Regions from separate parts of the Homo sapiens genome. Here region 1 is linked to region 2. Evidence: promoter capture Hi-C in human tissues and cell types (Jung and others, 2019). All regions are on one chromosome and are shown on one strand. Each heading gives the region's core, a stretch centred on a gene start or on the middle of the fragment in contact. The rest is flanking DNA. Distances are from core to core; before and after follow the strand shown. Region 1 has its middle 35 kb from the start of TAB2-AS1. Region 2 holds the start of NUP43 (nucleoporin 43).

Region 1 (2,930 bases), core at 126-2,625, 520 kb after region 2:
GTTTTTCCCTGCTTTCCATTTCTGAAAAGATGAAGTTTTGGCCAGTGGGTACTCTACATATCTGGCTGCAAAGAGGTTACTAGGAGCCAAGCAATGTGGTGCCTAATTTCAGCATTCACTTAAGTAAAGTTATTTATGACAGTCTCTACAGTTTTTTTTTTTCTTTTCCTAAAGGGGGAGGTGTGTAGTCTCAGCCAGATTAAAGGAATATTTACATTCAGCCTCAGCTGCTGATGCTTTTAAAATATGGCTTTGAAGGTTTAAACTAGGGATGGTATATAAAAAATGGAATTACATGTCCAGAAAATGCAAGCAGTCATTGAAAGCATCACTAAATCAAGTACTCAAATGGTAATACAGCTTAACATTTTTTTACATAAGCAGCTGAAACAACATGAGAACTCTCTAAAACGGTAGGGGCAATCAGTCTGTATCAGGCATTTAACCCCCAAAGCCACAGAAAACCTGCATAATGGGGACTGGAGTTGAGAGAATTGTCATTTTTATCCATCCAGCTTTTCAAATTGAAAGTATTTTCCAACAGATTAGGACAGGCCGGGAATCTGGATCATACTCTACAAAATAGCAAGACAATGGACAGCAAGAACACAGGCTATAATTTGGAAAATCACAGGGGTTCTTAGAATCATTTCATGTCAGAGCTGGACGAGTCTTAGAAATCAGTTGTTTTAATTTCTGTTTAGCTGCACAGATTCTGCAAACTAAAACAAACAAAAGAGGTACTGGAAAAGACTGACTGAGATGTCCTCATCGACAGGTCACAAAGCTCTGAGAACCAAATTCCACCACAGAAACATAAAACAGACTCAGGTATCTGTAATAAAATAGAGCTGGTGAATCCTCATTGTCTTACCCAAAAAGCTTTTTGTGAAGAAACATTCCTTTTGAATTTAATAAGATAGTCTTTTGAGTTTGTTTTTTGTAAACTCAATATATTTCAATATTTCATGTGGCATGCTTGTTGCTACTTAACAAAAAAGAATTTTTTTATTAGACTTGATCTTAGTTTACAAAATGAGTTTGGTACAGGAAATAATGAATAGAAGGGGGCAGTTATCACAATCTAATAGAAAGATGGATTTATAATACTCTCTTTTTTTGGTTAACTTTGCTTATTAATTAGTAATTCCTAACAGATGTGATATGGATTACTTAGGAAAAAGTGATTCTAGAAAAGTAGCTTTTCTAACTGCATAGAAACCTGAGATGTGAAAGAGAGAGATTGAGAGAGAGACACAGTCTTGCGCTGCTGCCTATGGCCAGGCATCAGCAAGAAAAGTGTAGGTCACACTTTGAATCATCTGTGAGTTCCTGATTTTCAAAGGGAGTAATTGTTATATAGTGTATTAGCCAGGGATCTCCAGAGAAACAGAACCAATGGCACATATAGAGATATGAAAAAAAAGTTTCTTTTTTTTTTTTTTTTGAGACAGAGTCTCGCTCTGTTGCCCAAGCTGGAGTGCAGTGGGATGATCTCAGTTCAGTGCAACCTCCGCCTCTCAGGTTCAAACAATTCTCCTGCCTCAGCCTCTTCAGTGGCTGTGACCACAGGTGCCCACCACCATGCCTCGCTAATTTTTATATTTTTAGTAGGGACAGGGTTTCACCATGTTGGCCAGGCTGGTCTCCAACTCCTGTCCTCAAGTAATCTGGCTGCCTTGGCCTCCCAAAGTGTTGGGATTACAGGCATGAGCCACCACGCCTGGCCAGGAAAGGTTTATTATGAGGGATTGGCTCGTGTGATTATGGAGGCTGAAGAGTCCCACAATCACCTGTTTGCAAGCTGAAGGCCCAGGAAAGCTGGTGGTGTAATTCCAGTCCAAACTGGAAGGCCTGAGATCCAGAGAGGCCGATGGTGTAAGTCACAGTCATAATCTGGAGGCCAGAGAATCAGAAGTGCTGATGTCCAAGGGAAGGAGAAAATGGCTGAATGGCTGTTCCGGGTTAGAGAGAGTGAATTCTCCCTTTCTCTACCTTTTTGTTCCATTCGGGCCGTCTACAGATTGGATAAGGATCACTCACATTGGTGAGGGCAATTTTTACTCAGTCTACTGACTCAAATCTTAGTCTCTTCCAGAAATATCCAGGCATCCTTTAGTCCAGTCAAGTCGACACATAAAATTAGCCATCACACATACATTTATGTGGTCAAGAACGGGTGAGTAACTTTGCCTAAGTCTGGTAGTGGGAATGGAAATCAGGGGTTGGAATGCTGGCATTTCCCAACATCAGACCTGGGCTCAGACAATCAGAAACTCACTTCTCCCCTCCTTCATTCCAGGACTGATTATCTAGCAGAGCATATTCTACTTAGGCTTCATAAACAAAGTCCTCCCTTTGCCCTTGCCCTTCTTCCTAGACTACACAGAAGGACTTTTACCTGGCGAGTTAAGAGCCACAATCAGAGAGTGCGTTAAGTGTTTCACTGTGAGAAGGACAGGGACAGAAAAAGCCTGGCTTTTGAGAGTTCTCTCTCAGTTGGCTGTAGCAGTGGCTCTCTGTGATGCCCCAAGCCCTTTAAGGGGAGCCATGAGGTCAAAACTATTTTTATGATAACACGGAGATGCTATTTGCCTTTTTTACTGGGTTGACTTTGCACTGATGATGCAGTAGCCATGGAGGCGGATGAAAATGGCTGTGTTTTAGGACAAGTCAAGGCAATGGCTGGCAGCAAGCTGTGGTAGCAGTCATTGTGCTCATTGTTACACTCTGGCTTGTAAAATATGCTAGTGTCACTTAAGAATGCCCTTAGGAAGCAGTAGAAATTAATTGTAGTAATCTTGACCCTTGGTTACAGGTCTTTTGAGTATTTTCACACAATACTCATACATAAAGCACCTCTGCTGCTTATATTAATATAAGTGCCATGGTGGGTGGGAGGAAGACTGCTGTGTGGTTGTTGAGTTGTG
Region 2 (3,057 bases), core at 503-3,002:
GTGGCATGATCTTGGCTCATTGCAACCTCCACCTCCCAGGTCCCGGTTCAAGCAATTCTGCCGCAGCCTCCCGAGTAGCTGGAATTACAGGCACGCACCACCATGCCCAGCTAATATTTTTGTATTTTTAGTAGAGACAGGGTTTCACCATGTTGACCAGGCTGGTCTTGAACTCCTGACCTCGTGATCTGCCTGCCTTGGCCTCCCAAAGTGCTGGGATTACAGGCGTGAGCCACCGTGCCTGGCCAAAACAGTGTTCTTTACTTCAATATTAAACATGAATAAAATTGTTGATTTGGGACTGTAACCCACTTAATATTTTCCATTTCATCTTTCTACAGTTTCTTGATGATCTTCCATTTGGAGAAAAGAAAAAAGTCAAATCCTTGATAGGAAACTGGTAACTCTAAAGCTGACCCAGATGGATTGCATTTACATGCAGTGCTTCCGTAAACTGTCCCTGTGAAGTAGGACTACCAATATCACATAAAAACAACAGTAGCATAATGGCCCTTTTTAAAGAAATAACCAACATACAGTTATGAATACCTATAGTGTAAAAGAGCTTCATTTTTTAGTTGAATAAGTCATATCTCTTGTATTCAGTAGGATTTACATTCTAATGGGGGAGGAATATGCATCTAAAGAAAACTAACATAAGATATATCCAAAATATATGTCATTAGTGGTCTAGATATCAAATGCTAGCTCACGCCTGTAATCCCAGCACTTTGGGAGGACAAGGCAGTTGGATCACCTGAGGTCAAGAGTTCGAGACCAGCCTGGCCAATATGGTGAAATCCCGTCTCTCCAAAAAAAAAAAAAAAAAATTAGCCAGGCATGGTGGCGCACACCTGTAGTCCCAGCTACCCTGGAAGCTGAGGTGGGAGAATCACTTGAACCTGGGAGGCGGAGGCAGAGGTTGCAGTGAGCTGAGATTGTACCACTGCACTCCAGCTTGGGCCACAGAGACCCTGTCTTAAAAAAGAAAAAAAATGGTGTTGATTTAGATCAACATTGGCTGGGGTCGTCAGGAAATGGTAAAGGAAAGAACAGATCCTTGAAGGATAGGCAGGATTCTGAGGAGTAAAGAGGAAGGGAAGAATATTATAGGTGTAACCAAAAGCACAGAAGGAACCTAGAAAACTGATTCCTGGGCCGTTGACAATAGGTATCACAAACTTCATTCTTAATCATGCACGTAATTGAATTGATCAAAGCTAGGCAATTGGCATCAAAACTAAAACTGGAGTCTTTCAGAATTCCAACTCCAGGCTCTGACAGTGTGTATTAACTTTGAAGCAAAGTATTTGTTTGGGAGACAAGAGGGAGAGGTTTGGGATAGTAGGTTGGCACTTTATTCGAGGTACTTCCACGAGTATTTAAGGATTTTTGAATCGTTTTCTATGCGCAGTGACCTGCAACTGCTTAGGTGTGGTTTCAAGGTGGTTTCTACTGCATTGTTTTTGTTCTGTTTTTGCACTTAAATTTTACACTGCACAATTATTGAACACAAGAAAATACTGACATTGCAGATTAGGAGCAAGTCCTACTGCTCAAAGGCCAAAGCGCTCTTGCCTTTGCTCAGAGCTGCTCTGTGAGATGGGTGGGCCTCTCAGTCTAGGTACTGACTGTGCCCACACTGGCTATCGACGAGAATTGACTCTCTGCAGCCACCGTCTCCGTCCTAAAGTCCCATCCAATCAGGGTTCCGCGGGAAGAGGCGGTGCTGAGAGGCGCGTACTGTGCTTGCTTTTTGCAGTACCTGCTGCGGCCGCTTTCGGCATGGAGGAAATTTATGCGAAGTTTGTGTCCCAGAAAATCAGCAAAACCCGCTGGCGACCGCTGCCTCCGGGAAGTTTACAGACCGCGGAGACGTTCGCTACAGGATCTTGGGACAATGAGGTATCGCCGCTGATAGGGACGAGCCCCTACCTCCTCCCTCTCTCCGGTTGAGCTGACCCCTGGCCTTCCGCGCGCCAACTCCCACCTTCTGGTTCTTCTCGCACTTTTAGGTCCCCCGGACCCCTGTCTCAGGCGCGGTTGCTCCGTAGCTCAGAGCCGGTGATGGCATGCCTGAGCCTCGTATCTCGTTGTGTTTTAAACTCACCATACCATTTGAGATGTTTTGGAGCAACATTTCCGGACGGGAGCACAACTTTTATTTTCCGAGAGTTGACGTTTATGTCATCTCAAGACAAAACTTTCTGTTTTACAGGAAAATTATATTTCACTGTGGTCTATTGGAGATTTTGGAAACTTGGACTCTGATGGAGGGTTTGAAGGAGACCATCAGTTATTGTGTGATATCAGACACCATGGTGATGTAATGGATTTACAGGTAAATCTGTGTAGCATCCAAAAGCTAACTTTGAAAGTCCTGAGTAATACATTTAAACAAGCAGAGCATCATAAAAGTTGTCTGGTGTCACCCCTCGTTTACAGAAAACTGAGTGCTCTGTAAGTTATGATTTGCCCAACATCATTTAGCCATTTAGTGGCAGAAAAAGGACTGGGAAAGGGGATGTAGATTTAATCATACTTTTTTATTAATTGACTGTCGACTATGTGCTAAATACCGTTTGGGGAGCTTTACAAAAATTAATTATTGTTGCATGCCAGTGAATCAAGTATCGTTACTTTGTTTTACTAATGAGAAAATTGAGACTAATATATCTTGAGCATGTACTATGTGACAGATACTGTGCAGGGGGATAACATCATTTTGTTTTTTGAATTCTCATAACAACTCCCTAAGTAGAGATTAGTGCTCCCGTTTTAAAGATTTACCACGATTTAGTGAACTTAACTTGGCCAAAGTCTCAAAACCAGTAATGAGTGGTGGGGATGAAATTGAGTTTTCTTTTTTTTTTTTTTTTCCAAGATGGAGTCTCGCTCTGTCACCCAGGCTGGAGTACAGTGGCATGATCTGAGCTCACTACAACCTCCGCTTCCCGGGTTCAAGCGATTCTCCTGCCTCAGCCTCCCGGGTAGCTGGGACTACAGGCGCAGGCCACCATACCCGGCTAATTTTTTGTATTTTTAATAGAGACGGGG

Evidence for each region. Contacts are between HindIII fragments. The study calls those that stand out against the background at their distance.
Region 1: a fragment that was not itself captured here is called in contact with the fragment with the promoter of NUP43 in region 2 in 1 of the 25 tissues and cell types used here (aorta).

The regions. Positions count from the first base shown.
Region 1 is chr6:149,221,135-149,224,064 of GRCh38, reverse strand. It overlaps a transcript of TAB2 not described here. Among named protein-coding and RNA genes, the nearest start is that of TAB2-AS1, 35 kb to the left of the region's middle. The HindIII fragment of the contact is 6,138 bases long and covers 1-2,930 here.
Region 2 is chr6:149,745,224-149,748,280 of GRCh38, reverse strand. It overlaps NUP43 (nucleoporin 43), which reads left to right and starts at 1,752. Exons shown (of 8, transcript NM_198887.3): 1 at 1,752-1,905; 2 at 2,219-2,341. The coding sequence starts at 1,786. RefSeq lists an enhancer at 1,383-1,442. The HindIII fragment of the contact is 10,037 bases long and covers 1-3,057 here.